Regions from separate parts of the Homo sapiens genome. Here region 1 is linked to region 2. Evidence: promoter capture Hi-C in 16 types of primary human blood cells and fetal thymus (Javierre and others, 2016). All regions are on one chromosome and are shown on one strand. The core of a region is centred on a gene start or on the middle of the fragment in contact, and the rest is flanking DNA. Distances in the headings are between cores, read along the strand shown.

Evidence for each region. Contacts are between HindIII fragments. The CHiCAGO score rates a contact against its expected background, and 5 or more counts as called.
Region 1: a fragment that was not itself captured here is called in contact with the fragment with the promoter of ZBTB47 in region 2 in 1 of 17 cell types (M0 macrophages); the score reaches 5.7 in M0 macrophages.

What each region holds. Positions count from the first base shown.
Region 1 is chr3:42,720,294-42,727,852 of GRCh38, forward strand. All of the region lies in intron 13 of CCDC13 (coiled-coil domain containing 13), which reads right to left. Among named protein-coding and RNA genes, the nearest start is that of CCDC13-AS1, 8.5 kb to the right of the region's middle. The HindIII fragment of the contact is 1,104 bases long and covers 5,457-6,560 here.
Region 2 is chr3:42,649,564-42,657,037 of GRCh38, forward strand. It overlaps ZBTB47 (zinc finger and BTB domain containing 47), which reads left to right and starts at 4,134. Exons shown (of 6, transcript NM_145166.4): 1 at 4,134-4,320. It overlaps ZBTB47-AS1 (ZBTB47 and NKTR antisense RNA 1), which reads right to left and starts at 4,825. Exons shown (of 3, transcript NR_125400.1): 1 at 4,431-4,825. RefSeq lists enhancers at 4,108-4,749, 6,814-7,108 and silencers at 4,755-5,114, 5,155-5,234. The HindIII fragment of the contact is 5,084 bases long and covers 3,110-7,474 here.

The sequences.
Region 1 (7,559 bases), core at 4,759-7,258, 73 kb after region 2:
TTGAAGGTTGTTAGGCCTCCTAAATGCCTCGTAAAATGCCATTATGACTCTTAACTGTATGACTTACCTGCTTTACAGCTAGGTAAGGCCTGGGACACATTAGAAGTTAGACGCTGGAAAGAGTCAGACCTTATCTGCACTTCTGTTTGCTGTCCTAGGCTCCATACTAGTACATAATTAAAATCCCAAACTTACCAAGGTTTTCACCAAAAGTAAAAGTTGCTAAGAGTTAACACTGTAACATGTAATTGAGACTACTGAAGAAACAGTTTTACATGCGAGGTGTGTAAAGAAAGTGAAATGTGTTTTTGGTGAAAAATTATAAGAAGTCATGGGAATGTGGATTTTTCTTGCCTAGATTAAAGGTTAAAGGATTGTTTTAAGTTAGAATAAAACTAAAGGTTTAAGCAAGGGGTGGAAGGTTTGTGAAAAATTAATTGTAAAAGACATTCTGTGTGTGAACATACTGACTAAAGTTAAAGGGGTATTATTCAGCTTTTCCGTCAATTAAACATTGGAATAAAAGCACAACAGGTTTTTCTTAGAGCAAAAACCTGCCTATGATCTCTTTAACAAAAATTTGTAAAGGGTTATACAAAGTTTGTAAGAATCTCACCTTATGTTCAAACTGATTAAGATTAAATAAATTTATCTATAAGGTTTTATTAAGAATTGGATTTGACATCAATAACGCACTAATGCTACAGTAACATTTGGCTTATCGGGTATAAAAATCATATAGAAAGCATTGTCAAATATGAAATAGTGTTTGGCTTTCGTCAGGCTATATTTGTATAAATGTGTTACTGGTATATGTTCCAAAATTATTTTTAAAACTCCTATAATTCTGATATGACTTAATGTGTTATTAATAATTATTACATAAAATCATTGTGTGCCACAGAGGCAACCAAAATTTCCTAGTCAATTGTGGATTTAATAGTGGCTGTCCTAAGACTTTTTATCATCTACAATTGTTGTCCTGTTTTAATCCTCTTTAGAAGGTGGTTTATAATCAACTACAGGACTTTGACAGATGTTCTTGAATGCAAGTTTCTGATAACTTTGGAAATTGTAACATTAGAATAGAGGAAAACACTTTCAGGACTCATAGAGAGCTGAAATGTTCCTGAATATCAAACAGAAGTTAACTGCATGTACTAAACTGAAGAAGTCTAAAGTAATCTTTTTAATTTTGTTTCAAACGTTGCTGATCCTTTGTTTTGTTTTTCAGAGTCAAGGAAACTTTTCAGCTATTTACAGCTTTTAACAATTGAGTAAAGCATACTCCTGTGAACAAAATTTGGAACATATTTGTTTCTCTCTACCTGATTTCTCCACAATTTGGAAACTATGTGTGAGTATTCTTAACTTATGGCAACGTAGTTATTTGCATAATTGCAATACAAATCTGTTTTCTTTTGCAACAGGACACAATTGGAGAAATTGGTTATTTTACCAAAACTTTGACTTGAATGGTGTGCTTTCCTTTAAGGAATCAAATTTGACTTGTAGAGCCAATAAAAACCCCTTGGGCAACTGACCTTGTTTATTCCTGTGAGCCAGCCAGTGATCTCTGACTGCTGTCCAGAAGAAACACGAGGGATGGGTCATGTGAAAATCTGGAACAGTATTCTAATTCTGGGCATGTATTGGAATTGGCTAGCAACCCCATATCAGCTTGGTTCCAACAGTTGGCCAGTTCATGGAAAGCCTTCTAATTTAGTTTACTTGGGATAATTTTACTTACCTTGCTTTACTGTTGTGGAATATATTGCTGTTGTACTCTTTGTATAGGAATGCAGGATAAGCTTACTGAATACTTTCTTAAATTGAACACTTATTAATCTTCCAGATATCACCTTTTGTTGGACTCAAGAGTTATGAATGGCCCTCACCATACTGATGCTTTCTGACTGAGCTCCTCACTACCCTGAACACAAGAGGGAGGAATATCATCGCCCCTATTCAGCCTGGAGAAGTTACAAAAGATGGATCTTCGTCCCTCTGCAACCCTTAGGATTAATGGTTCTCCTATAAAAGGGATGGGGGGAAAATGTCAGAGGCATTTGAACAAGAGCAACTCCATCTTAAAGAGGAGCTGGGTAAAATAAGGCTGAAACCTACTGGGCTGCATTCCCAGATGGTTAAGGCATTCTAAGTCACAGGATGAGATGGGAGGTTGGCACAAAATACAGGTCATAAAGACCCTGCTGATAAAACAGGTTGCAGTAAAGAAGCTGGCCAAAACCCACCAAAACCAAGATGGCAATGAGACTGACCTCTGGTCGTCCTCACTGCTACACTCCCATCAGTGCCATGACAGTTTACAGATGCCATGGCAACATCAGGAAGTTACCCTATATGGCCTAGAAAGGGGAGGCATGAATAATCCACCTCTTGTTTAGCATATCATCAAGAAATAACCATAAAAATGGACAACCAGCAGCCCTGGGGACTGCTGTGCCTGTGGAGTAGCCATTCTTTTATTCCTTTACTTTTTTTTTTTTTTTTTTTTTTTGGAGACGAGTCTCGCTCAGTCACCCAGGCTGGAGTGCAGTGGCACTATCTCGGCTCATTGCAAGCTCCGCCTCCCAGGTTCACGCCATTCTCCTGCCTCAGCCTCCCGTGTAGCTGGGACTACAGGTGCCCACCACTACGCCCAGCTAATTTTCTTGTATTTTTAGTAGAGACGGGGTTTCACCCTGTTAGCCAGGATGGTCTCGATCTCCTGACCTCGTGACCTGCCCATCTCGGCCTCCCAAAGTGCTGGGATTACAGGCGTGAGCCACCGCACCTGGCCTATTCCTTTACTTTCTTAATAAACTTGCGTTTACTTTGCACTGTGGACTCCGCCTGAATTCTTTCTTGCAGGAGATCCAAGAACCCTCTCTTGGGGTCTGGATCAAAACTCCCTTTCCTGTAACAGTTTGCAGGAGAATGTCTTCAAGGCCAGCAAGAAAATACTGCTTCCACTCTGGCTTCCTCTGTCTCTGACAGCTAGACTCAGACTAAAAGGACTCATATGATTAGGTCAGGCCCACTCAGAGAGCCTCCTGTTTGATTAACACAAAGTCATCTGATGAGTAACCTTAAATAGCTCTGCAAAATCCCCTTGGCCATGTAAGTTAACATAATTGTGGCAATAATATCCTACCATATTCACAGGTTCTGCCCACGCTCAAGGGAAGAGAAGTTTATAAGGCATGTATATCGGGGGTGGGAATGTTAGAATTCTGCCTACCACAGTAAAAATAGAGGAAAAAAGAAAGAACATTAAATTCAATGGCATTGTAAGAGAGTAACACAACATAGTTCCAAGAACACTAGAGCTGTAAGATTCAACATCGGAATTAGGTTAAAGGAAAAAATCAGGTAATCCTTCCAATAGATACTGAAGAAGCACTGGTAAAATCAGTAGCTATTCCTGACTTTAAAAACTCAAAGTAAAATGAGAATAGAAGGAAACAACACAATAAAGTATTTTAAAATCAGAAACTAATAACCCATCAATAGAAGAATGGTAAATAAATAACAGTGGATTTATACAATAAAATATTCTGTAACCATAAAAGGAAAACGTACTGACATGAAAATGCAATATACTAAGTAAAATAAGTAGCAGAAGATTATGCATACTATATGATCTAATTAAAAAATTTACAACAAATTAAAAATTTAAAAACAAATAAATATAAGGTTAATATAATTCAGCCACTTGACTGAAAACAAAAAGGAATATGTGGCAGCTATTGACTCAACTGTGGGGGAGGGGCTTTCACTTTTCTGTTATGAATTTCAATAATGTATGCATTTTGTTTAACTCCATTTATAATAGGGGAAATAATAAACCAACAGCAAAACATCATATAAAATAGCAAACCACATTGTGAATTCCCACAAAATTTTAGGAATAAGCAAACTCTTGATTTCTCTCCTTCTCCCCTATAACGTGCCTTCCACATCTCAATAAATATTATCCTCACTCATGCAGTTGCTCAGCCCAGATACCCGGGGGTCACCCTTGCCTTCTCTTTCTTCCTCATCTTCAGCTTCCAATCTATCAGCAGGCTCTACAACTTTTCCTGCAAATATGCACCAAAACCAGCTCTTTCTCTGTCCTCGCCCCCTCTCCAGACCTGAGGCTGCTCCTCCTGCCTGGGATCTACAGATGTCCGTAAGCTTCAAGACCTCTTGCACACTTTGGTATTCTGATTATTCTCTTTTGACCAATCTCTGGTCTCACTGATTTTCTTCAGTTGTTAACAGGCCTAACTCAGCTAGATCCTAATTTGTCAATGTATTTGATTGCGATTCTAATAGTTCTCCAAACTCATGTTCATCAATCTCATGAAATTCCAAATATTTTGAAAGATTTACCTTTTTGCTTCATAATTGATTTTCATTGTATTTCAAGAGTCTGACCAAAGTGACCCAATGCCAATGTGAAGTGAAGAATATTAAATAGTCAAATGATGACTGTTTTAATATTAAAAATTTTGCTTTCATGGGGACTGTAACTGTGGGGGTGCTGGTAAAAAATACTCAGATAAGGAGGTTTCCCCCTACCTAAGAATGCTAAGAATGAATTTAGCATAATGACACAAAATCTTCATGAAGACAAACATACATAATATTACACATTATATACATAATACCATATATATGATACATAAAGTGTTCTTTTATAAGTCAAATAAAAATATAAACAACTCTAAAACATGTGCAATGGCATGAATAGGTAGTTAAAAGAAAAAAACATAAAAGTTATGTGGAAAATATACTTATCCTCACTTTTGGTCATAGCAAAGCAGATAAAAACAAGGAGATATTAGCATTTCCTTGTTAGTTTGGCAAAAATGTTAAAGATTAATAAAACATAGTAACTGTGAGGGTATGGGGAAAACAGTTCACATTATTGGTAAGAATGTAAATTGATTCATTTTAAAAGGCAATTTGTCATGATTTGTGAACATTTTAAATGTGCATATTCTTTGATTCAGCCATTTCTTTTTTAGGAATTTGTGATACAGATATACTCCCATAAAAATGTAAAGATGCATTTAATGTAAGTCTATAAAAATATAAAAATTAGCCAGGCATGTTGGCATGTGCCTGTGGTCCCAGCTACTCCAGAGGCTGAGGTGGGAGGATCACTGGAGCCCGGGAAGTTGAGGCTGCAGTGAGCTGTGATCACACCACTGCACTCCAGCCTGGGTGACAGAGTGAGACCCTGTCTCAAAAAAAAAAAAAAAGAGGACTAAGATAATATCCATCTACAAGTTCAGGAAAGTAGTAAGGAAGCCTGCAGTCTATCAGGGCCTTGGGAAATGGGGAGGAGGGGAGGAAGCACCAATCATGTGAAACTGAAACACAAGGGCAGCATTCATGTGTTCAGGGAATCTAAGCCAATAAATTCACATAAAGTACCAATCAGAGACCACTGAAACCCTAAAAGCTTCACAGAGACAAATGCAGAACACCTCCACAGAAACACGGTCATCACCTAAGAACTCCTACAAGGAAAAAAGCCCCACTGAAGATAAGCTCATAAAATCACAAAAATTGAAACCACACAAGGAAATAATTTACTACAAGGGGAGAGCCGACAGACATTACTTAGGATCCTAATTAATGAAGATGGTAGAAAACTCTAAAGGGAATAAGTTCAAAATTATTTAAAGGAGAAAGGCAAAAATTGTAATGAAAGAACAAATGCTATAAGAAAGAGAACAAGAGGGTTTTGTTGTTGTTGTTTTGTTTTTGAGACGGGGGTGTTTTGCTCTTTTTGCCCAGGCTGGAGTGGAGTGGCGTGATCTTGGCTCACTGCAACCTCCGCCTCCCAGGTTCAAGCAATTCTGCTTCAGCCTCCCAAGTTGCTGGGATTACAGGTGCCTGCCACCACACCTGGCTAATTTTTGGATTCTTAGTAGAGATGGGGTTTCACCACGTTGGCCAGGGTGGTCTTGAATTCCTGACCTCAGGTGATTCACCCACCTCGGCCTCCCAAAGTGCTGGGATTACAGGCATGAGCCACTGTGCCTGGCTGAGAACAGGAGCTTTTACCGAAAAATACAGTTATCAAAATAGGTTTCATGGTAGATGAAGCACAACTGAAGATATTTAGTGATCTAGAAAGCTGATTTGAAGAAATCACCCAGAATTCAGCCCAAAATAGTAAGGGTAAAGAGATGTGGAGGAAAGAATAAGTCTAACATATATGGACTAGGAATTTTAGATTAAAAGAATAGGGAGAGTGAGGAAGAGGCAATATATGGACAGCAGTCCTTGGGAATATATAAAGTCCTTGGATTGAAAAAGAACACTAACTTCTGAGTAGATAAAATTACGTATAACATATTTACATATATTTACATATGTATACTTTACATATACATACATACAAATATACACACATATTTACATGTATATATAAAATATATATTTACATATATGTAAAGTCACACATATATACATATATACATATATGGGCATATTACATATATACATATGTGTGTGTGTATACGTATATGTATATACGTATCACAGTGAAATTTCAAAGCTTCAAAGACAAAGAGAATAATCTGAAGAAGCATCGGAGAGAAAGGACAAATCTATTAAGGAATGACAATAAAACTGATAGCAGATTTCTTTTTAGCAATAGTAGATGATAAAAAACAATAGGATAGCCTGAAAGTGCTGAGAAAAAAATACCCATCTATTTAGAATTCTATGCCCAAATTTCTCTTAAATTCTCATTCAAGACAGGCAAAATAAAGACATTTAAAAATAAACAGGCCAGGCGTGGTGGCTCATGCCCTTACTCCCAGCACTTTGGGAGGCTGAGGCAGGCAGATCACCTGAGGTCAGGAGTTCGAAATCAGCCTGGCCAACATGGTGAAACCCCATCTCTACTAAAAATACAAAAATTAGCTGGGCGTAGTGGCTCACACCTGTAGTCCCAGCTACTCGGGAGGCTGAGGCACTAGAACCACTTGAACCTGGGAGGCGGAGGTTGCAGTAAGCTGAGATCATGCCACTGCACGCCAGCCTGGGTGACAGAGAGAGACTCGGTCTCAAAAAAAGAAAAGAAAAATAAATAAATAAATAAATAAAATAAAAATAAACAAATACTCAGAGAGTTTACTATTTACATGGCCTCACTGAACTAAAGGGCATCTCAGTAAGAAGGAAAGTGAACCTAGAAGGAAGATTGAGATACAAGAAGTAACAGTGAGTGAAGACATTTTCAAACATGTTGGCAAAAGGAAACGAATATTCACTATTCAGTATTCAAGACTTACTTTGGAGGGTTTAATTTCAGGGTTTAAAAAAAGAATGTGGAAGAGAAATATTAGGAAACAGTAACATGAAAGGCACAAACGGAGAAATCAAAGTTAAAACATTCTAAATGTATTCTTTTGCTTAAAGTGATAGTAGCAAAACCAACTAACTTTAGATTGCTGAGTTTGATGTTAAAAGTTAAGGGTGACCACTAAAAGAACAGAGATAGAATATCTAACTTCCAAACTTGCAAAGAAGTAAGAGAAATAAAACTT
Region 2 (7,474 bases), core at 2,884-5,383:
GGCCAGGCATGGTGGCTCACGCCTGTAATCCCAGCACTTTGGGAGGCCAAGGCGGGTGGATCACTTGAGGTCAGGAGTTTGAGACCAGCCTGGCCAACATGGTGAAATCCCGTCTCCACTGGAAAAAAAAAAAGAGGCTCTACTCAGTTTTTCAAGGCAAATGCTGAGCCTTGAAGGAGTGTTGCAAACTAATGTGGTCAGGTGAAAGGATGTGGAAGCCATGCCTCACAAGGTGAAACGGACTGGGTTCAGATTTCCGGAGAACTCTGGTTTTTGGAACAGAGAATCAAGTCTGCTGTTCCCCACAGTGAGGCAAGAGCCTGCAGGCCCATGAGGGCCTTGTGGTAGAATGAGCTGGGAAGACAGCAGGGAGAAGTTCTTTGATGCAGTAAAGGCCCCTCAGGAGTCCAGAGGTGTCAGGGGAGGACGCTGGGTACCCTGAAAGAACACCTGTTCATCTCAGGACAGACTGGGAAGCTTGTCGGGGCCTGGTAAGTGCAAGGCAAGGAGAGCCTGCCCTGGCCACATACACACAGGGCTAGGAGGCTTTAGTGGTCTGTTTTCTTTCAAAGTTTCAGTACAAGGTAGAGATAGTGCTCCCTTGCTGCTGCCTCCACTCCTCACTGTGAATCAGAAGGCCCCAGGTAGGCCTGCTGCCTCTTGGAGACCCCAGACCCACCACTTACTATAGCCCATCAAACTCCAGCTCCCTAGACTGAGCTGAGCTTCACAGCCTGCAGAACCCAGGCTAGCTTGGAGAGGGTTGCATCTCTTCAGCCCAGAGCCTTGAGGACATCAGGGTAAAAGGAGTGGCCACCTATATTTCTAGTGCTTTAGGAGGCCTAGGCAGGAGGATTGCTTGAGGCCAAGAGTTCAAGACCAGTCTGGACAACATAGCAAGACTATTAAGACAAGAACAGAACAAAAAGCAGCTGGGCATGCTGATGCACACCTGTAGTCCCAGCTACTCAGAGGGCTGAGGTGGGAGGATCACTTGAGCCTAGGAGGTGGAGACTACAGTGAGCCATGATTGCATCTCTGCCCAGCTTGGGCAACAAAGCAAGACCCTGTCTGAGAAACAACAAATGGAGTGACCTGAGGTCTCAGGACAAACACCTGCATTCTGCATCTTGAGCCCTGATCCTGGGCCTCCTATGGCTCATAAACCCCTGAAAGAGGGTATACATGACTGGCACACTCAGACATGAGAGACAACCAGGGGTGCTCATCCCTTCCCAGCCTGCAGACGAGTCTGCCTCCCAGTGGACCTGGCCCACAGGGGTTGGGTGTATAGGCTGGCACTTCACCAGCCTCTGGTCACCTAGGACCTCTAGCAACTAAAATCTCCCATCAGGCCAGGTTCCCAGAGAAAGCCTAAGAAGAGTCCCCACTGACCTCAATGCCTCCAGCCTAATTTGGTTTTATTTTGAAGAAGCAGGGGGACTTCTATGAGCAACTATGCTATGGTACAATCGTTAAGGTCTCTGGGCCAGAACCAGGCTGCTTGGGTTCAAGTTCAACTCTGCCACTTCCCAGTTGGGTAACTGGAAGGAGGACAATTTGCTTGACCTCTATAATTCAGCTCATCTGAAAAATGGATGCTAGGGATTCCTCCTCCTAGAACTGTGGTGTATTAAACGTTTAGAAAACCAAGCATACATCAGTGGTTCAGAGGTGGTGGCCCCTGAGGTGGTGACTCTAGGAGAAGTGAAGGAGTCCCAGAGGGTTCATGTGTGGAGCCAGGTTCACTCACTAGGGAGAGGCCCAAGGCCCCCAGAACCAACAGGGCAGGAGAGGATCCTAGAAGCTGCAAGAGAGACGTGAAATGCCAAAGCCATGATGTTTATGCTGTGAGGGAACCAGGCAACCTACCGGTTTGCATGAGGCCCCCAACCCAGGGCAGCTGTAGCCTATTAGTGCTGGGTTCAGTGGAGGCAGAATTCAGGTGTAAACTCCACCCTTAACCCACCCCACACCCTGGGGATTCATGTTTTCCCGCCCTACTAGAACTTTGGGCTTCGGATCAGCGCCTAGTGGGTAGCTTTGAACTTCCCTGCCAGCCCACTGGCCACATGCTGTGCGAGTTGAGTTGCATTGCCTGTATTTTTCTGGCATTGCCCACTCTGCTCTCCCTCTTCCCCAGGCTCAGCTACACACAGCTCCATGCCCTCCGGGCTGACTCAGTCCTGCATTGTTCCCACACACATACGCATACCCACAACCTGGGCTGTTCTTTCTAACTTCAGTGGGGTTGAATCTGGTTTCCCCAACTAAGCCTGGGGACACTCCAGCACTGAGGGTAGATACTTAGGGAAATTGAGAGAAAACCCATGAGCTGTCTTCTAGAGGCAGGGGCATAGCTTTGCTGACCTTGTCAGGACCCAATCCCAAATATGTGAAGGATCACTAAGCTCTGCCCTTGCTGGGTGAGCGTCTCCAGACTCCTGACTCACCCCTGGGGCATGCATTTCTGGCCCAGGAGTCAACTCCCCAATAACTCAGTCCCTCCCTCCAGAAAGCCTGCCTTGACCTCCCTGAAGTGAAGCTCCTACTGCATGCCCCTCATCAGGACCAAGAGAGAAATTCTGCCTCTGCCTAGCTCCACCTGTTCACTCCCACCAACCAGACAACTCCTGATCGATAGGAATCTTGACTCCACTACACCAAATCCCCTCTAGTTCCCTGCAGATGCTAAATTGTCTCCACCTCCTGGCCTTTGCAGGCTTTCTGTCTGGAAAGCCCTTTCACTCCCTCATTGCTCTAGTTAATGTTCAAGTTCAAGCCTCAGCTCTGAGCAGCCCTGTGGGCCCACCAGACAGCTCTTCAAACCACTCCTTCCTGCCAGGTCCAGTGTTGCCAGGTGCCCACAGCTGCTCACAGAGCTCAGGCTCTGCCCTGGGACTCCCCAGCTGATGAGCTGCAGGCCAGAGAAGCAAGAGGGGAACAGCCGAGGCCTTCAGGGAGACTGAGTGCCTCCCCACCACCTGTCCCCTCCCTTCTCACCCAACCTCCAGCCCTTTCTGCAGCTTGACTGCTGGAGCTAAGGCCCCAGCAAGGCCCCATAGGGCCAGCATCACTACCTCAGTCACGCTGGCCACACCCTCTGTCAAGCTTTGGCTTGGCAGTGGGCCTAGCAATGTCCCATGCAGCTCTCTCTGCCAGGCTTCTTCCAGCCCGTGGAGGGGTCCCTTCTCCCCACCTCCCCTTCCCCTGGCTCCTGATGCTGATGCCTAAGTGATTTGTCCCGCTCTGAGCCTCAGAGTCCTTATCCAACCAATGGGCACACAGCCCCTCCCTAACTAACTCCTGGGCCGGTGCTAGGATCCACTGTGAGTCAGATGAGGAAGTGGGCTGGGGAGGAAGAGGCAGAAGGCAGCCCTCAGCGGGCTAGCTGGTCAGAAGCATGTAAGCTGCTCTGGCCTGGCCTTAACCTGGGGCCTCTGGGAGCTGGGCCAGCTGTCTGTGCACCCATGCAGGTACAGGATGTCTGCAGCAGCTGCCAGGGGCTTCCAGATGCCCCAGGTTTGGCCCCTGAGACATTTTCTCCCTAGCTCTGGGATAGCCTTATCCTGAGGCCCTACGTATTCTGGCAGAGAGTGGGGGTGGGGGAGGAGGCCCTTGCAATCTTACAGGACAGACCATCAGGCTGTTTCACAGCACCTGCCTAATACCCTGGTCTCTCCTCCATTTCTCCTCTGGCACCTAGAACCAAGTCACCCTGAGCCAGCGCCAGAGTTCCTGCCCACTCGTGAGTAGGACAACATACCCAGGAGATACTGCTGCAGCTGGACATGGACTTGTATGTAAACACAAGCGCACATATGTGGGGAGGGGTGTGGAATATCAGGATGGGGGCAACATGAGAGTGACCCAGGATGGGCAGTAGTGAGCTTGGGGTAGGAGGAGGGGATGTCCACAGAGGCCTCTCCTCTACAATGGTGGCCCAGTCACCATCCAGACCTTGCCAGGTCTAGTGCCCCGTGGTCCCCACCCTGCTGCCTGCTCAGCCTGGCAGCCTTCCTTTACAGCCTCCTGCCAACAGAGCCAGCCCCCTGCCCCCACGGGTGTCCATGCCAGAGCAGCATTCCGCAAGCCTGGCTGCATCTCCCCAGCAGAGGCTGAGCAAGGGGGCCACTCAGCAGTGGTCAGGTCACACGGCTAGAGGGGCACAGTGGGGCCTGGGCCTCTGGTCCCTACTCCTCTGGTCCCTCTGTCTCCTGGCCCTGGGCCAGTCACCTTAGATGATTTGATCGCTGCGGTTGTAGTCCTGGGATTTAAATCTCCTGCCCTGGGTGGCCCTATGCAGCATGAGGCCGCCAGGTAGGTATGGGTCCACTGGAGCCAAGTCCTGGAGGCACAGAGCAAAATGAGCCCTGCGCCGCCCTGGGATAGGGATGGGGGACTGGACCAGTTGGGGACCCCAGACTCACCCCCAGGTCAGAGCAGCCCAGGCGAGAGGGTGGGGGTGGTGAGCGCGGCTGGGGTGCGGGGTTCAGTCCCTCAGCGTGGGATCCCTCAGGGGAGCGGGTGGAAGCCTTTTCTGTTCGGATCCGGGGCCCGGCGCGCTCAGCTTCCTGATTTCACGGCAGCTTCCTATCCTGGCTCCCCCTCCGTGGCGCAACCGGAGGGCAGCGATGTTTGACTCCCGGACGAACTTCCCGGCAGAAAGGAGGCTCAGCACGGGAGGGTGGGGCCGGGGTCTATCTGCTCGGATATGAGCAGTGGGGACGGGCTGGGGGCTGGAGCTGGGGCTGGGGGTGGAGGGCAGCCTGCGGCAGGGCGGGCTGCACGGGGACCGCGCACACCACGCGTGTCCGCGCCCCCCGCCGGCACGCAGGCGGCCTGGCCCTTTAAGCGTCCAGACGGCGGCCCCAGCTGACGCGCGGGCTCCAATCGGCGCCCCGCGCCCCCCGCCCGCCGCGCCCGAGGCTCTGGGGCCGCAGCTGCTTGGCGCTGGACTCGCCGCGGCCCTGCGCCTCCGCCTGCCTGGCCGCGCCCCCGGGGGCCATGGTCGCGGGGCCCTGCGCGGGGGCGGCCCCCAGCGCGGCGCTTCATGGAGCGGCCCTGGCCTGGCCGCCGGGGGCAGCGCGATCCCGCGGGGCCCTGTGAGCCCCCAGCGCCACGGCACCATGGTACGCAGGGCCCTGCCTGTCCCCCCGCTTATCCGCCCACCTGCCAGCTCTGACCTCCCAGGCACACGGCCCGCGGGCCCGGGTGGAGGGGCTGGAGGGATCTTCCCCCCTCCCCCGGTCTCCCGGCTCCATCTGCTGGGTCCCGCGGGCCGGGAATGCGGCGCTGTGGCGCTGCTCTCGGTGGGGAGGGGGTTAAATTCCTGTGGTGGGGGCGCCGGCGCGCGAGGCTGAGGTCTTGCTAGGCACCGGCGAAGGGGGGCGCTCCCCTGCGCCCGGACGGCGCCGCCCTCGGGCTGGGTAATGGGGGGAAGAGGGAGTCGGATTCCCGCCTGGGCCTTGGGCCACGTGGGCGCTGGAGCCGCCCTGCCTGGGGATTCGGGATGACCCGGGCCAAGGGGGTGTGGGAGGACACCCAGAGCTCCCGTACCAACTCCTGTGTGACCTTGGGCAGATCCCCCGCCCTCTCTGGGTCTATTTCCAAGGGAAAGAGGGGAGGTAAGTGCACAGAGGAGGCTGGCATGGACACTCCCTCACCAAAAGGAGGAGCCTAGAGGTCATGAGCCTGTGCCCCCTTGCTCAGTCTGGGCCCCCCCACTGCTGCCCAGCATAGAAAGAATTGACATGGGAGGGGGGCGCAGATGGACTCCCCAGGTTTCATCATGGGGCCTTCCAGGGAGGCTCTGAGGCAGGGTAGAGAGATGAGGCTTCTCATCAGTGAGGCAAGGTACCCCTCAGGTGTAGAAGGCTCTGACTTGGGTGAGCAGCCTGGAGAGATGTCTGGCACCTGGCCAATCCCCAGCCTGACTTGGGGCAAGGGTTTGAGGGCATGAAACCCCCTGGCAACCAGAGTGCCTGACCACCTCCCTGGTCCTGCATCTTAGCTAGGCTGGAGTGACCTGGACTGCAGCTGGCACAGCCGGATGGGGAGGGGCACGCATTGCTTCCGGGAACCAGCACATCTGGCTGTGGAGGCCAGCACAGCTGGTGGGCATTGTGTGGGAGGGGCCAGACATGGGGGTGGCTGAACCCTGCTGAGGGGCTGCCAATTGTGGACTCGGGCAGCATCTCTGTGCCCAGTCAAGAGAGTCCAATCAGGTCATGAGGTTTAGGGCCCCCCAAGGGCCAAGGATGGTGCTGCCTTGGCTGAGAGTACTACCTTAGCAATGGAGTGTTTGAGAAAGCACTCCCCTCCTTTCCTGCTGAGAGGCCAGAGGGCCAAAGTCAGGCCTCATTTGGCCTAGAGGCCAAAGTGCACATGGGAAGGTTGCCCTTTCCCTGTGGCAGGTGGGCACAGGTGGGCAGTGGAGGGCATTCCATAAAGGGAGAGCAGAGAGATCTGGGGCTCTGTTGCCTGGGGTGGACTTCCCCCAACAGGCCTGGCTTCAGCAAACCCTTATCCAAGCCACTTCTCCTGCCAGTCTTTGGCCCCTGGAGGCCCTAAGGAGCCCCTGTTGCAACCCAAGTTGTACCCTGATCCTTCACTGACCTGCAGGTGCAGTGGCTCTAGGGAGGAGGGAGCAGGTAGAGGGGATAGTGGTGAGTGTGGGGAAGCACGGCTGGTCTCCAGGTGGCGGGATGTTCTCGCTTTTTAAGTCATTAAAGGCTCAGAAATCCAGCCATGTGGGGTCTAGCAAGGAAGGGGTGGTCTTAGCGGAGCTGGGAGTCCAGGGGCTCTGGACTGTGGAACCCTCTCATTCTGAGCCTCGGTTTCTCCATCTGTGTAGTAGGGGTTGGTCCCAGAAGATGAATCAGAATGAGTCAGAGGAGGGAGATGGGAGGGGCTTGGTGCCACGTCCCAGTTAGATTGGCCAGGCCTGGACAGCCTGGGACAGAGGGAGATGGATGGCTTCTTGGCTGGGGTAAGGGGTGTAGTGGAGAACTCAAGGAAGATGGTAGCCTTGGCCAGGGGCCTGGCCAGACTGGGATGTGAGGGAACACAGGATGGCTGCTGCCCTGGCTGCTGGGTGTAGGGGGCAGGGTCCAGGGCAGGCCTGGAGACAGGTGGCCCCTGGTGGCTCAGGGAGGCTCCTGCTGAGGCCCACGGTAGGTTTCTCATTCAGGTGACTGAGAAGTGGAGCTCAACCACCACCACCCCTGCCCAATCCCAGCCTACCCACTGCTCTCCTGGCGATGGAAGGCCTGGCATGGGGAAGGGGGGCGGTAGGCTGTGGATGGATGGGGCCAGGATTCATCCCAGGGTCCCCAGGGAGGCACTGACAGCTATGGAGCTGATGGTTTTGTGGCCATCAAAATATTGTGGCAAGGTACCTCCCGAATGCAGGAGGCTCAGACCTGGTTGGGCAGGCCCTGAGGAGAGCCAGAACTTGGAACCAGTGGTGCTG